2 separate regions of the Homo sapiens genome follow, and region 1 is linked to region 2. Evidence: promoter capture Hi-C in 16 types of primary human blood cells and fetal thymus (Javierre and others, 2016). All regions are on one chromosome and are shown on one strand. Each heading gives the region's core, a stretch centred on a gene start or on the middle of the fragment in contact. The rest is flanking DNA. Distances are from core to core; before and after follow the strand shown.

What was found. Contacts are between HindIII fragments. The CHiCAGO score rates a contact against its expected background, and 5 or more counts as called.
Region 1: a fragment that was not itself captured here is called in contact with the fragment with the promoter of CHRM3-AS1 in region 2 in 1 of 17 cell types (total B cells); the score reaches 5.7 in total B cells.

The regions. Positions count from the first base shown.
Region 1 is chr1:236,096,792-236,100,995 of GRCh38, forward strand. No RefSeq gene overlaps it. Among named protein-coding and RNA genes, the nearest start is that of NID1, 34 kb to the left of the region's middle. RefSeq lists enhancers at 1-1,012, 1-462, 438-732, 463-965. The HindIII fragment of the contact is 9,622 bases long and covers 1-4,204 here.
Region 2 is chr1:239,897,966-239,902,369 of GRCh38, forward strand. It overlaps CHRM3-AS1 (CHRM3 antisense RNA 1), which reads right to left and starts at 1,907. Exons shown (of 2, transcript NR_046582.1): 1 at 1,799-1,907; 2 at 54-427. All of the region lies in intron 6 of CHRM3 (cholinergic receptor muscarinic 3), which reads left to right. The HindIII fragment of the contact is 7,774 bases long and covers 223-4,404 here.

The sequences.
Region 1 (4,204 bases), core at 1,308-3,807, 3.8 Mb before region 2:
AAAGAAATAGCACTCAAACATAAGTTTAATTTTCTCAGCAAGGCAATTTTACTTCTCTAGAAGGGTGCGACTCGCAGATGGAGCAATGGCCAGAGCACACCTGAACAAGGGAGGGGAAGGGGTTCTGATTCCTGACACAGGTAGCCCCTACTGATGCGTCGTTCCCGTATTGGCTAGGGTTGGACTGCACAGTCTAAGCTAATTCCGATTGGCTACTTTAAAGAGAGCAGGGGTATGAGCCAGAGTGGCGGGGTGAGTAGTTTGGTGGGAAGGGTGGTTACAGAACAGGTGACTCAGGATGATTCAGGTCAGAGCAGGTGACCAGGGGTGACTCAGAATGGAGCAGGTGGCCAGGGGTGACTCAGAATGGAGCAGGCGGCCAGGGGTGACTCAGAATGGAGCAGGCGGCCAGGGGTGACTCAGAATGGAGCAGGCGGCCAGGGGTGACTCAGAATGGAGCAGGCGGCCAGGGGTGACTCAGAATGGAGCAGGTGGCCAGGGGTGACTCAGAATGGAGCAGGTGGCCAGGGGTGACTCAGAATGGAGCAGGCGACCAGGGGTGACTCAGAATGGAGCAGGTGACCAGGGGTGACTCAGAATGGAGCAGGTGACCAGGGGAATAGACGTTAACTACTGATTAGAACTGTTGGAAAAGGTTGTTTAGTGAAACTAGGGCTGAGGAGAACGAGGAAGTTCAACTTTAAAATGGAGAACAAAGAACTGAACATACTGACATACTGATTCTTTGAAGAGAAATTTAGAACTCACTGTATTCAACAAATTATTATTTTTGCTTTTAAGTGTCTGTGGAATTCACCGGTGATCCACCTGCCTCAGCCTCCCAAAGTGCTGGGATTACAGGCGTGAGCCATTGTGCCCGGCCAAGAACAGCCTTCCATTTCTACCTTGCCTGTAGCCTCCCAAACCAAAATACGGGTCTCAACACCTGGTCCTTGATCTCCTTGACTCCCGTTGGACCCAAGAAGTATGGCTTCTCTCCCCTTTCCTCTGGTGGATGGCCCTGGACACAACCCACCTCACACTAACAGAGACAGAGGGGTGGTCCAAGGGAAGTGAGTGAGAAGTTACCTGCAGAAGAGGGAACTTTTGAGAGAAGGAACCAGGTAGCTGTGAGGCCCTTGAAAACAGAAGGCTGTCAAGGCAGATTTGAAGGGAGAATATATGTGAATTAGCAAGTGCAGGAGATAGAGAGAGCACTAACTATTAGAAAGAAATGAAAATAGGGCCAGGCGCGGTGGCTCACACTTGTAATCCCAGCACTTTGGGAGGCTGAGGCAAGTGTATCACTTGAGGTCAGGAGTTCGAGTCCAGCCTGGCCAACATGGCGAAACCTCCCCACCATGTCTACTAAAAATACAAAAATTAGCTGGGTGTGATGGTGTGCACATGTAATCCCAACTACTTGGGAGGCTGAGGCAGGAGAATCTCTTGAACCTGGGAGGCGGAGGCTGCAGTGAGTCAAGATTGTGCCACTGCACTCCAGCCTGGGCGAAAGAATGAGACTCCATCAGAAAGGAAGAAAGGAAGGGAAGGGGAAAAGAAGGGAAGGGAAGGGAAGGGAAGGGAAGGGAAGGAAGGAAAGGAAGGGAAGGAAGGAAGGGAAAGGAAGAAAGGAAGGGAAGGGAAAAGAAGGGAAGGGAAGGAAGGAAAGGAAGGGAAGGAAGGAAGGGAAGGGAAGGAAGGAAGGAAGGAAAGGAAGGGAAGGAAGGAAAGGAAGGGAAGGAGGGAAGGGAAGGAAGGAAGGAAGAAAGGAAGGAGAAACTAGGAATAGGGAGAGGATAAAGAAATTTTAGTTTTTGAAAAAGCTGTGTTAAGCTAATCAAGTCACATGAGATCATGCAGAGATGTGGCTACCATAGTATCTAAAGAAAAGGACTCTGAGGCAGGCAGCCTGCCTGGGTTCAAATCCTGCCTCCCCCACTTATTCACTGTGCAATCTTGGGCAAGTTACCTAACCTCTGCCTCAGTTTCCTCATTTGTGATGGTTGTTGTAAGGATCAAGTTATTGCACGTAAAGTACTTAAAACAACTCCTGGCCCATTAAGCACAAGAGACCTGTGTTTTGTTCTTGTACTATCTTCCTCTTCATCATTATGTACCTATAAATTAACTAACCTGGATGTTACTGGCATTTCAAGATTTCCTTGCACAGTGCTAAAAGTCACTGTTCAAATTGTGCTCACAATCTGTGCACTCTTATCAGAATATGGGCAAGAAGTTGGACAGAGTTGCCCTACTAGAGAAAGTGGGTATATAGAGAGCATCTTTTACATATTTGCATTGGGGCTGTCTTTCATCACAATGGGAGCAGAATTTGACAGGCAGTAGGGTGGATGAGGTGCAGCTCCACACTAACCAGCTGAGCCATGTGAGCAAATATTGAGCACATCAACCCCATTCATCATCAGGCTTTTTTTTTTTTTTTTTTTTGAGACAGAGTCTCACTCTATTGTCCAGGCTGGAGTGCAGTGGCACTATCTCAGCTCACTGCAGCTTCTACTTCCTGCTTTCAAGTGATTCTCGTGCCTCAGCCTCTCAAGTAGCTGGGAATACAGGTGCACACCACCATGCCCGGCTAATGTTTTTGTATTTTCAGTAGAGACAGGGTTTCATCATGTTGGACAGGCTGGTCTTGAACTCCTGACCTCTGGTGATCCACCCGCCTTGGCCTCCTAAAGTGCTGGGATTACAGGCATGAGCCACCGAGCCCAGCCATCAGGCTCCCTCTAACACGTGTTTACATTTAATCATTCGATTTGCATAAATCTAGCTTCTTGCCTGCCCTAGACATGTGTGGCTTTGTTGCAAAGCTAGACATGCTTTAAAATTAATTTGAAATGCATGTAACTTTTGCTATCCCAAAGATGGTAATATAGCTGCATAGCATTCCTAGAGACCTCCAACACTTCCTTCCTTCCCGAACAGAGCATTTAACTCTCTTCTCAAACTACCGACTGTCTGGGGCGGTGTGCCATGATGCCCCGGGGGAAGCTCCGTGGATCTGGAAGGCAACTCGGGACATCTGGTCTGGCCAGCCCACCCACGTAATGCATTCAGCAGACCTGCCCCCTACACAGAGGGCTGAGCCTCTGAGCTCCCACAGGCTCTACCTTATAAGCAAAGACTGAAGAGTCTTTGTTCATAAGGAAGAGAGAAGAAAGAAAAGAAGCAATTAAACAGAATTGCAGGAGCTCCTAGAGTCTGTCAGTTTCTTCAGAGCCACGCCAGGGTCTCACCTATCTTTGTAGGCTGCTCAGTAGAAGTGAGGCACCCAGTGGGTGCTGGCTGAGGTCTCCTCTCCCTCGGCAGGGTCCCTTCTGATGGCCTCCCTCCTCCATCTGCAACAATCCCCCGCACCCCTGTGGGCTTCCTTCTTCCCACCACCTCTGCATGCTGGGCCCTCTGGGTTCTGTCTTCTTCCTATTGGAAGCTCCCTTTCCAAATGACCTCCTGTCCTCTGCTGGCCCAGACCTCCCCTTATGTGCTGTGAATCCCCCATCTCCAACTCCAGCCCAGTCTCTCTTCTCAACATGCAGTGGCCGCTTCCATCCATGTCCCCCAGGCATCCTAAATTCAGCACTTCCAAAACTGGAATTCACAGGTTTCCCAAATGCACTTGCACGCCTGGGTTCCTCATCCAGCCCAAGACACCACCTTTCCCCGACTCGCTCTGTCTAAAACCCGAGTCTTCTTCGACTTCCTTCCCTCTTTCCCTCGTGCCTAACGATAGTAATAGTATTGCTCATATGCATTGAGTACATCCAGTGTGCTAGACAGCATACGAATCCCCAGCAGTTTCCTTTGATACACCTACTACATGAGGCAGGTACTATTATCAACAGCATTTTATGGATGAGGAAGTGGGGTGCAGAGAGCTGGCTCGAGGGGGCAGAGCTGGTGGAGAGCTGGACTGAGACTGGGATCTGTTTGATTCCAGAGCTTGAGCCTTTTGCACCACTCTGCTCCATCTTTGACCGCCACACACCCTAAAAACAAAACAAAACCCAAAACACTCCACCACTGAACAATTTTGGTGACCACCGTCCCACCTCTGGGAGGGCTGGGAGTCCCCAGAAAACACAGAAGTAGCTCCCAGGCCCGTAATTCACCCCAACATTTTTGGTTCTAGAAACCTGGCAAAGCAGCCACATTGGCCCAAGCCAGCGACACCGCGCGGCCCCGC
Region 2 (4,404 bases), core at 657-3,156:
GGCAACCGAGGGAGGAGGCAGCAAGATAAATCAACTTTCTAAAAAAAAAATTCCCCTTTTTAAATAGAATTTTATTCCGGTTTTGGTGTTCAGAGATGTTTTGTTCACAATAAGAGCCATTGCTCCATATTAGGTAACATCTTTTCCCCCTTGCAGCTTCAAATGAATATCAAGAGCCAGGTTCACAAGTTGGATTCCCTTTAAAGACACGTTTGATTGCAAAGCTTTGTTGACTCTGTTTGATATCCTCCGCGAACTGCATGACTGAGCTAAGCTGAAGTTCCTGGTCACCAGCATGGGGAACGGGTAGCTGCTTCAGCGCCTGCTGGCAGAGAGGTCGTTCTCCGAGTCTGCTTTGCCACCTAGTGGTTTGATGTGGTATTGCCATTCACCAGGTAGTTTTAAAAGTCATTTTAGCCGTTGAATGCTATAGTGAATTATGACAGAAAACAGAGACACTCTAAGCAAAGAAGGCAGTCAGAGACCCAAAACAAGCCCTGAAAAATGACGCAGACTGGATTACAAATAGGGAAGAGGCACTAAATAGTTGGTCTGAGAAAAAACGCACGGCTGTATGTTGCAAAGATATTTTGGGTTTTTCCCATATCATCACTTAAAAAAATAATTATTATTATAGACGTAGAATTAATTTAGACTTCTAGAAAAATTTATACGCTTTTAATTGGTTCAGCAGGTTTAAAAATCGAGAGCCCTCAAACATTTTTCCCAAGTAGGTACTGCCCGGTTGGCTCAGAGGACATGAAATGAGTTTATCTCCTTGGAATTCATTATAACCAGAAGCCTCACATGTATATTGGCCTTGTCCGTTTCTGTAAGCAATCTCACATGTATTTCACACTGGATATTTACACATTTTTAAATTTTTTAAATTTACCTATATATTTCACAGACTTATAACCCCAGAAAAGTTATTTTTTGCCATAACTAGGGGGAAGAAGGCAAATTTCCTAGAACTAACCTTCAATTTCTCCTAAATTCAGTACTGTCAAACTTTTTTGTCTTTTTTCACATTTTTTGTTTCACCCTCTTCTTTTAAATATTAATAAAAGATGTCAAAATATCCACTGCAGTGGCTTTCCAACATTATTCAACACAAAATACATTGTACGTACATCATGACTATAGACATAATTTTATACGTGTGTGTATGTCGAGCAAAAATTTAATGAAGTGATATTGATTGTCATTATGTGGTATGCATTCTGATACGTCCTATTCAATTTGCTGTACATTTTTTTCTTTTTTAATTCTCATATTGGCCCACTAATTGGCTCTTGCATTTTGAACTCAGTGTGTGTGTGTGTGTGTGTGTGTGTGTGTGTATATACACACACGCATATATATCTATTGAATTTAGTGTGTGTGTATATATACATAAATACATATATACATATATAAACACATATACATATACACACATATACATATATACACACATATCTATACACATGTATGTATATGATATGTATATACATACGTATATATGTGTGTATATATACTCACACACATGTATATATACACACATACCAAGTTCAAAATGCAACAGCCAATTAGCGGACCAATTAGTGTGTGTGTGTAGTGTGTGTGTATATATATAGTAAGTTCAACATGCAATGTATATATACACTAAGTATATGTACATTGTATATAAGTAAGTATACTAAGTACATAGTATATATACACGATATAAGTACACTAAGTATATCGTATATATATACTAAGTATATATACATACACACAGATGTAACTTCCCCACAAAGGCACTGATGGTACCCACGTGCAGGATCTTGCGCAGTTTTCCACTTCTTGCCTGAGCTCTGGTGCCTGGAACACTTCAGTAACCATTCCCTGAATGTTGCACCCACAACCTGGCAGGGAGGGAGCCTGCTCTGACCCCAGAGAGGAGCCAGGCACCTGCCCCTGGTCTGCCCCTATCTGACCATGCCCTGAGCCCTCATGCAGGCTGCATTCCTAGAACTCTTGCCTGGGATTACTTATAAAGTGCGAAGGTCACTGGGCTGACAAGGATCTCTGTTCCCACCACCTGTTTATTCCTGAGCATTACAAGGAAAGACTTCCTGTAGGTCCCCTCACCAATATCATTCAATTCAATGAGTGTAGACTGTGAACTTCCTTGACTCAAAATATCCTAATGCTATGGAATAGCTGTTGAGTCAGGATGAGGAAGGAATATTAAACATAGGAATGATACCTTCTACTCAGAAAATCACCGTAAACTGAGGGCTCTTAGCCCGGGGTTATCACTGCTTCATTTGGGTCTGACCTACAGTCTTGATTCTCAGGAAGTTACATATTACCTATGAAATAATAGATATACCTGAAGTAAAACATTTGGTGACTCTCATTTCTAATAAGTACTTTTAGATATTCTTTTTTTTTTTTTTTTTTGAAATCCTTATGACCGGCTGATCACTTTCTCCTGTTGTCATCCTGGGTACCGATAGGACCTCCGTTGCTGAGCCTCCAGAGAACAGTCCTTTTAATGAGGCCGTGGCCCCAAGGCCTCGGAGAAGTTCATAGAAAATGTCTGAAAGAAGGTGGGAGGGATCTTGTTTCCTGGCCCTATAGGGACATTGTCTTCCTTGATAAAGCTGGGTACAGCCTTGATATGAATAGATTGGGGAGCACCAGGAATGTACCTCACCTGGGCTGTCGAGAAAAGACAGTGTGCTCAGAAGAGGTATGGCAGGTGCTGAATATTCCCTTGGAGGGACGAAGGCAAGAAAGGCCCCTACAGCAATGAGGGGAGAAAATCCACAACCCAAGTAGAACTAGGATTTCTTATGTGTGAGACAATACATTGCTCATTTACATGTAAAGTGTGTATAATATTTTTAATCCATCGTATTCAGGCGAGCAAGATCAGTCATTTCATTTTTGTATAACTTGCCTCGAAGCTGCCTGTTGTGGCCCCATTCTGCATAGCAAATCACCACAAACTTAGCAGCTTACAACAAGGTTCCCTGTTCAGGGTCTCAACACTGAAATCAAGGTGTTCGCCCAGCTGAGTTTACGTCTTAGGCAAGACTAAGGAAGAATTCATTACCACAGGCATTCAGGTCATCGGTGCTTCTGCCATGGTGACCTAGTGACCTCTGAGCAGCTGCCACCTCTGGGCACCAGACAGGAGGGCATGAGGCACGCATCTTCTTTGAGTCTGATCAATATTATCAGATGCGACCTCTTTTTCCTCCAACCTTCTCCGCATTTAAAAGCAACAGCAGAGTGTAAGGCAAGATTCCAAGCCCTCCTTGGCAACCATCACCAATATCTGCCCCCTTTTAACTCTCTTCTTCACTTCCTTCTGGCTTCGGAAACTTTGGGATTTTTTTTTTTTTCCTCATTCGGGACATTACAGATTGAGCTGAAGTCTTCTTTGTCCATCACCCTCAATCCTAATTTTATCTTCCTCCTCCAAAATACCACTGCTAATATATGATTTGCATGTAAATCTTTCTATCCTTCTATGACAATTTTAATTATATTAATATACTAAAGGTGGTATCTGTCTATATGTCTGTATACAACCTTTAGTATACAGGCATGTACAATCTTTAGTATACTATTGCTGTGTTTTATTGTAAACTAAATTTTATCGTGTTGTATTTGTCATCCCACAACTTGCCTTTCTTACTTAACAAAGTATTTTTAGATGGTTCTAAGTTAATATATATCTAGTTGATTGCTTTTATCTGCTGCATAGTATTCCCTTTTATGAATGACCTCATTTTTGAATTCATTTCAAAACGAATGGTCTTATAGATTTTCCTCATTTTTGTCATAAAAATAAATGCTTCAGTTAATAGCCTTGGGCGTGTCTCCTTGTGTACATACGAATGCAATAATTTCTAGAGGGTAGATACCTAGCAGTTGGATTGCTAGTTCATGGTGTACATGCCTTTTCAGTTTTAATTAATACTTCCAAATCACCTTTTTGTAGTACTTATTATCAATTTATTCACTCTGGATGTGGCAAGGGGAGATTTTTCTTATTTTCCTAGTGTGTAGGTCAGTATACCATGCATTGATGCTCAGAAGACCAAGTGTTTGCAGTTTCAAAGCCCTTATCTTTAAATCCCTTCTCTCTACCAGAGTATTTAAAATCTACTTTAAAAAGCAAAAAATGAGGAAACACTGGTTTCTTTCTCCCTGTGTTTCTAAAGTAACAACACAACCCTGAGAACACAAAAAGTTAGCATTGGGAGAAGGGAGGCAAGATCCCCGTTAATACTTCAGAGTATTAGCCTACAACACCACAATGCTTCTTATCTTCTCCATAATCTACAGATCAGGCGATAGTATTCTAGTTTTATAGATGAAGAAAGGTCGTCTCAAAATAGTCAAGTAATTTGGTAAGTTTAT